Regions from separate parts of the Homo sapiens genome. Here region 1 is linked to region 2. The links are contacts of gene promoters, found by promoter capture Hi-C in human tissues and cell types (Jung and others, 2019). All regions are on one chromosome and are shown on one strand. Each heading gives the region's core, a stretch centred on a gene start or on the middle of the fragment in contact. The rest is flanking DNA. Distances are from core to core; before and after follow the strand shown.

Region 1 (2,871 bases), core at 187-2,686, 190 kb after region 2:
ACTTGCCTATTGGGTGCCTCAACAGGGATGGCTAGAACAGCTTGGGGCTGGCTGGGCATCTCTCCCTCCATGCGGCTTTTCTACGTGGCTAGATTGGCTTCTTCATAGCATAGTGCTCTTAGGGCAATTGAACTTCTTACCTGAAGGTTGAGGTTAGCTGGCTTCTAATGGAAGCGGCGGCAGAAGCAGAAGCTGCCATTTCTCCCAAAGGCTAGGGGTGGACCTACCTCATGGACACTTCCCCACCAATGTGTGTCACAAAATCAGCCCAGATTCAAAAGCAGGAGAAAGAGACTCCATCTGTTGATATGAAGATTGGCATACATTTATGGGGGGAAAAGGAACTGGGAACAGCTACCTTGCATATGGAAAAAAATTCAAACAGTGCAAAAGGGTACACAGTATAAAATAAGTCTCTTTGGCAACTCTGTCCCCAAGACACTCCAGTATAACAACTGTTACGCTTTCTGCGTATTTTCCCAGAGATATTCAATATATAAACAAACATATGCTTTATATATATGCTTTTAAATATATTTCTTACATTGATAGTGTGTATAATATAGTTTTATTCCAAGGTTGCCTGCTCTATAGTGTCCATGCTTTGCTTTTCTCATTTAATCATACAGAGGGAGGTAGTTCTATTCTTTGTAATGGCTACATATTTTCCTTTGGTAGATATTTAGCCATTTCTGATCTCTTGTTAATATAATACCAATACTGCTTCGATGAATATCACTATGTGTATTTTAAAAATGTAACTTTGCCAGTAAGAAAAATTCCTGTAAGAAGAATTGCTGAGTCAAATAATATATGCATGTACGATGTTATTAGGTCAATAAAGGTACCATGGGGAGGGACATCTAAATCAGTCATTCTTCACTGGGGAGGGAGAAAGCTTTGCCTACCACGCATGCTCCCTCCTCGCCTCTAGTCCCACTGCCAGCAGGTGTGATAAAACTGCTTCACTAATTGAGAACCACTCCTCTAGACCAACTACCTCATTCAGCAGAGAAGGCTCCTGCAGGTCTGAGAGCCTGACTCACCCTTCAGTGCCTCATCACACTGTGAATTGGTCTTCTCTCGACCAATAAGCACATAAGCAGTCACTGCAGGATCACCTTGATGTAGACAAAGTTTGTCCAAAGGGTGCCTTGTGATCACTAAACCTGAAAGAGCCTCCATGATCCAAAAAACAGAAAAAGATTCTGTCATCAAGCACGCCTGGGAACACTGCACCCTATATCAGTAAGTCACAATCAACAACGGCAAATGAGGACTCTGAGGAGCCCTGCCCCTAAGAAAACTGCTTAACATTGTTTAAATAAAAGAATGGATTTAAACGTCTGCTTCCTAACCTTATTGGACCATATCACCCCTTTTTGTAACACTTGTTTTGCTAACTACCTGTGGAAATAAGCTTTCTGGGAAACATTCTTTGTGGTGTAGAAGAAAAGTTACTGAACTGGGAAACTGGCTCCACTCCCAACCAGCTATGCAGTCACAAACAGTCAAAAATCACTCTGAGCCCCGGGCAGTGTAATTGTCTGGTGGTGGTGGTGGTTTGGTCCTTTTAACCTAGAGGAGCTTCCCCTTCCATTTCCCTTACTGAAGACAACACAGGATGTTATGCCTGACAGGGAACATTGAAGTTCGATCTGCGTATTTGTTCCTTTGAATTCCTTCTAGTCTGTTCTTTAGCTATGTGTATGCTAGTGCAAGTGGATATGACAAGTCCAGTAGGGCTTTTAGCTCAAGTCTTCTTGTTCCTGCTGCTCACCACCCTGACCACTCCCTCCCAAAGCTTCCCCACCTTCAGAAAAGAAAAAAAACCTGGAGTTCAGCAGAAATCAGGCTGACCTCAGGCATGCACACAGCAGACGATGAATATATCTAACTCTCTGTCTTTGCCACTTCTTTTCTGGACAGGCCATAAACAAATTTTGTGCTCAGGGAAAAATGATCTGGTATTCTTATATCAAATTCATATAACCTTTGCAAATGAGAACAGATCTTCAAACCAGGTGTAGTGTGATTTGTTTTGACTCTTTACTGCCTCCAACTGAGATGTTTTACATATACTAATCTAAAGACAATGAATCCTGAGCTGATTTCATGAGTGTAAGTTATTCCAGCCCTGAAATGAAGGGGCCTGCTGTGTGTCAGAACACACAGATGCATAGGCAACCAAGAGCTATTGAGCTAAATATCTTTTTTTATTAATCAGGGCTTCAGAGGTAAAATCTCCTTCTCAGGGACATCAAGGTGATTTGTGACACTCTCCGTACACCTTTATATTCACAAACCAATGAGTACATCACACCAATCTCTCGTTTTCTCATCAGTGGCAGACATAAAACACAGGTAATCTTCATGCTACTCAGATGTTTCAATTAACTGTGAAAACCCTTTGGCTTATATTATATAACATTTGTGAGTACTTCATTTCCTTTCAGCTTAAGCATCAACTAGAACACACACTTAAAATCTTGTTACATTTCTTTTAGAAATTGATGCAATTAAATGGTAGAGCTGCCTATACTAAAGACAAAAAGAATGAACTCTGAGGACACCTGAGATCTTTCTTTTTGTGGTCCTCTTAGGTGTCCGATTCATGGTTTAGAAAGGCGGGGTCTGTTTTTATATTCACCAAGAACACAGGGGCCTGAAAGTGGGAAATCCAAACACATGTGTTTACCAAGAATTCACCTCTTTGCACACATTGTATGCAGCAAGTACCTATGTTAGTGAATTTTTCTAAGTCAACCCTGGAGATATTTACAATCTTTTAAGTAAGAATCCTGGCCAGGCGTGGTGGCTCACGCCTGTAATCCCAACACTTTGGGAGGCCGAGGCAGGTGGATCACAAGG
Region 2 (3,216 bases), core at 130-2,629:
CCCGCGCTTGTCCTAAGGAAGAAACTCCCAGGGTATTCAGCTGGGTTCCCCAGAATTTGGACAGCCGGGTTGGAATAATATCTCCCGGCCCCTTGCCCTCGCCGCAGCCGGCTCCCGTAGTAAACAGCACAAGCTTTCGTCTCTCCCACAATAAAACACTCCCAGTCCCGGCAATAAAACATGCCTCTGAATCCCTTCCATAAACCGTACCCCAGGCGCCCCAGGAAATCGAGAGCAAATCTTTGGACACAGGGGTGCGGGGGGCAGAAAGAAAATTAAACAATTCCTCGGTTGCTGCGGCACCTGCGCTTCGGCAGCCTGACGAACTGTACCTCCGGCCCTCAGCCGATTCCCTCTTACTTTCGGAAGATGAATAAGCCTCCAAGCTTTCACCCCCCGAAATCAACCCAAATCAGCTCCGCCTCCCCCTCAAATCAGAGAAAGTGTTTGGAAAATGGAGTCACATCCATCACCGAAGATTCCCAATCCGGAAACCCAGAGCTCAGCAACCCAGATAGCATTAAGGAAACTCGAGTGAACTCTATGGACAACCGTGAATCAAACTTTAGAGATTTCAACTTTTCTTTCCAGAGAAATAAAAGGCGCATTCCTCACAGCCATTGGCAACGCTGAGTCCCTTGCAGAAGAGGGGGGGATGACTGTGAGGTTGAATTTGGCTTCTCTCCTTCTCAACCAGCACACTTAGCAAATCCGCCTTGATGGCAGCAGCTTCTCCTTTATGCCAGATTTTTTACAAATTACACCACACTTAGAAAAGGAGGAGAGAAGAAGATGGTGGGGAGAGAGAAACGGGGGGAGGGAAGGAGAAAGAAATCCCAAATCAAAACAAACAGGAGAGGGAAAAAAGAGAGAGAAACACCTCCTAACAAATTATCACGGGGTATATCGCCTTTCGAAAAAAAAAAAAAGGCGGGGGAGGGGGGAAGAGAAAAATAAGAAAAACAAAAAGTAACAACATTCCCCAACTCCTTTCTTGGATCTACATATTCCATAGATTTTTTTTTAAAGGCGATGTTAAATCAAATTAAACTTTAATGCAGCACAATTACTTTTAAAGAAATTAGTCCATTTAGGTCGCATTAAGGTAAAATAAGGAACAAATTGACAATTTCCTGCCCCGGCTTCTCCTGGCTGCCCGGGCGAGAGGCGCGCACTCACCTAGCCTGGCGTCCAGGAGGTCGGCATGAGACAGCATCGCGCACCGCTCCAGGGCGAAAGCTGTTCCCCCCCAAATTTTAGCGGCTTTAAGTTATTTAAAATAGATATAAGCTATAAGCTATACGATATAGATATATATAGATCACCTAAATGAAAGAAAATTCGGTTTGTGGTTAAAAAGGGGGCTTCTTGCATTATAATGTCCTTTAGAGAGACGGGGAGGTGCTTAACAGTTGAATGAACCCGTGAGCAGCTCGGCGAGGGGACCAATCAGGAGGGCAGCCTGCAAATGTCAGCGCCCGGAGAGTCCCCCACTCCGCCCGCCCGCTCGCCTGCGCCCGCCTGAAGGAGGCGGCGGCGGCAGCCCTGGCAGCTCCAGCCCGGAGCAGGAGCTAAAGCAGCCTCAGCCGCCTCGGCCTCGCCCTGAGCTTCTGGGCCCGGCTCCCTCTAGTTCTTCCCTGCGATTTTCTCCAGGCTCCCCTTTCCTTCCCCTTGGCCGGCGCTGCGCGCTTCGAAGGCGTAGCTCTGTGCCTCTGAGCTAACATCTTCCTAGGGCAGGGGCAGAGCAGGGGTCAGAGCGGGCCATGACCCTGGCGTGACCTGAGGGTCGCCCCCACCTGCGCTCTCTGGGCCTGCCGCTCATATTGGCCCGCCAGCCCAGGGCGCGACGAGGGCACACCGCGGCCTTCAGACAACGCCTGGACTTCGCCGCGGCTCAGTAGGCCTGCGCCTAGGGTCCAGGCGCCCTGGCTGTGCCCTGGGGTCTATACGAGCCCCAACCCCACAGTGGGCCTAGAGCGCAAAGAGGAGTCGGCTTCCCTGGCACCGCCAGCGCCCGCTGTCTGCTTTGGGGACCCTCGCGGAGTGTGGGTTCGAGCGCTCTGCACTCTTCTCACCGGGCTTCTTCCCGGCTCCTGCTCTTCCGCTTGGCCCACGCCCGCATCCTCGCCCCTAACTCGCTCTTTTGGTCAAAGTTTCTAAGTTCAGCTCGGCTCCCAACTCCACTTAAGGCTGTAAATAAAGTTAAATGCTCTTTATTTTCCTCTTGAATATGTTAAACTACTTGAACAATTTAAAGTGCTTTGCACAAGTGAAGCGAACCATTTCTAATGTTCTGATTTTTCAGAGCCAGCCAACAACAAAGTTTAGATTAGTAATATATTTCTAACCAGAGTAATTTTCAAGATCATTAGGCATTTATGTAATTAGTGCCAAATCTATAAGCTTTTATTACGATTATTAGAGTAAAATCAGTATAAATTTGTACTAATTTACTACTGTTTAGACTTGGCTGTCAAGCCTAGAGGTTCTTATTGTAAATGATAACTGAGGAAATTAAGTGCAAAATTCTGTACCATTTCTGATCTGCTCCTAAACAATCCGTTTCAATTGTATTTGTAGCAGAACATAATGCCCTTTTAAAGTTATTTGACTTGTATTTTTATTTGCAACACAAGAAAAATGCCCTCTACCCAGTCACAATGAAAACTGATATTTACTACTCCCAACTTGATTAACATTGATTTTTAATTCGAGAGTGATGCAATTAAGATTATTCATTTAGTGCAAATAAACCTTCCACAAAAGGGTGGCCCAATGAAGTCTGTTTTAAATAATACTGAGCAAATGGCTTTTTTTGTTCGCCGTCCAATTGACTTAGACAAAACATTGAAAATGCTGGCTGAGAGCAGATGCGAGAGGAATTGTGTGTGTGTGTGTGTGTGTGTGTGTGTGTGTGTGTGTCCTCAGCTGTATGTGTGACAGGGACCGAGCAAGGAGACAAAGGAGGCGGCAAAGCGAACTCTCGGGCAGTTTTGTTTCCTCCTTCCCTCCTGCAGCCCGTTCGCCTCCTCTCCTGCACACACACGTGCGCGCGCACACATATGCACACACGTGTGAATGCAGGGTATTGGCCACACCAGTTTCTTCTGAGCTGCGGAGACCGCTTCCCGGGAAGCTCCGGGCCGGACTGGGTTTCAGCGGCTGCTGCAGCTGCTACCAACGCGGCCTATGTGGGACTGGGCGCCGGGGTCGTGG

The links. The method cuts DNA at HindIII sites, captures the fragments that hold promoters and counts their contacts. A contact is called where the count stands out against the background at its distance.
Region 1: a contact is called between a fragment that was not itself captured here and the fragment with the promoter of OTP in region 2, in 2 of the 25 tissues and cell types used here (H1 embryonic stem cells and pancreas).

Annotation. Positions count from the first base shown.
Region 1 is chr5:77,831,564-77,834,434 of GRCh38, forward strand. No RefSeq gene overlaps it. Among named protein-coding and RNA genes, the nearest start is that of TBCA, 57 kb to the left of the region's middle. The HindIII fragment of the contact is 3,889 bases long and covers 1-2,871 here.
Region 2 is chr5:77,637,334-77,640,549 of GRCh38, forward strand. OTP (orthopedia homeobox) reads right to left here and starts at 1,380. Exons shown (of 3, transcript NM_032109.3): 1 at 1,180-1,380. The coding sequence starts at 1,216. RefSeq lists enhancers at 1,366-1,922, 1,923-2,477. The HindIII fragment of the contact is 12,469 bases long and covers 1-2,873 here.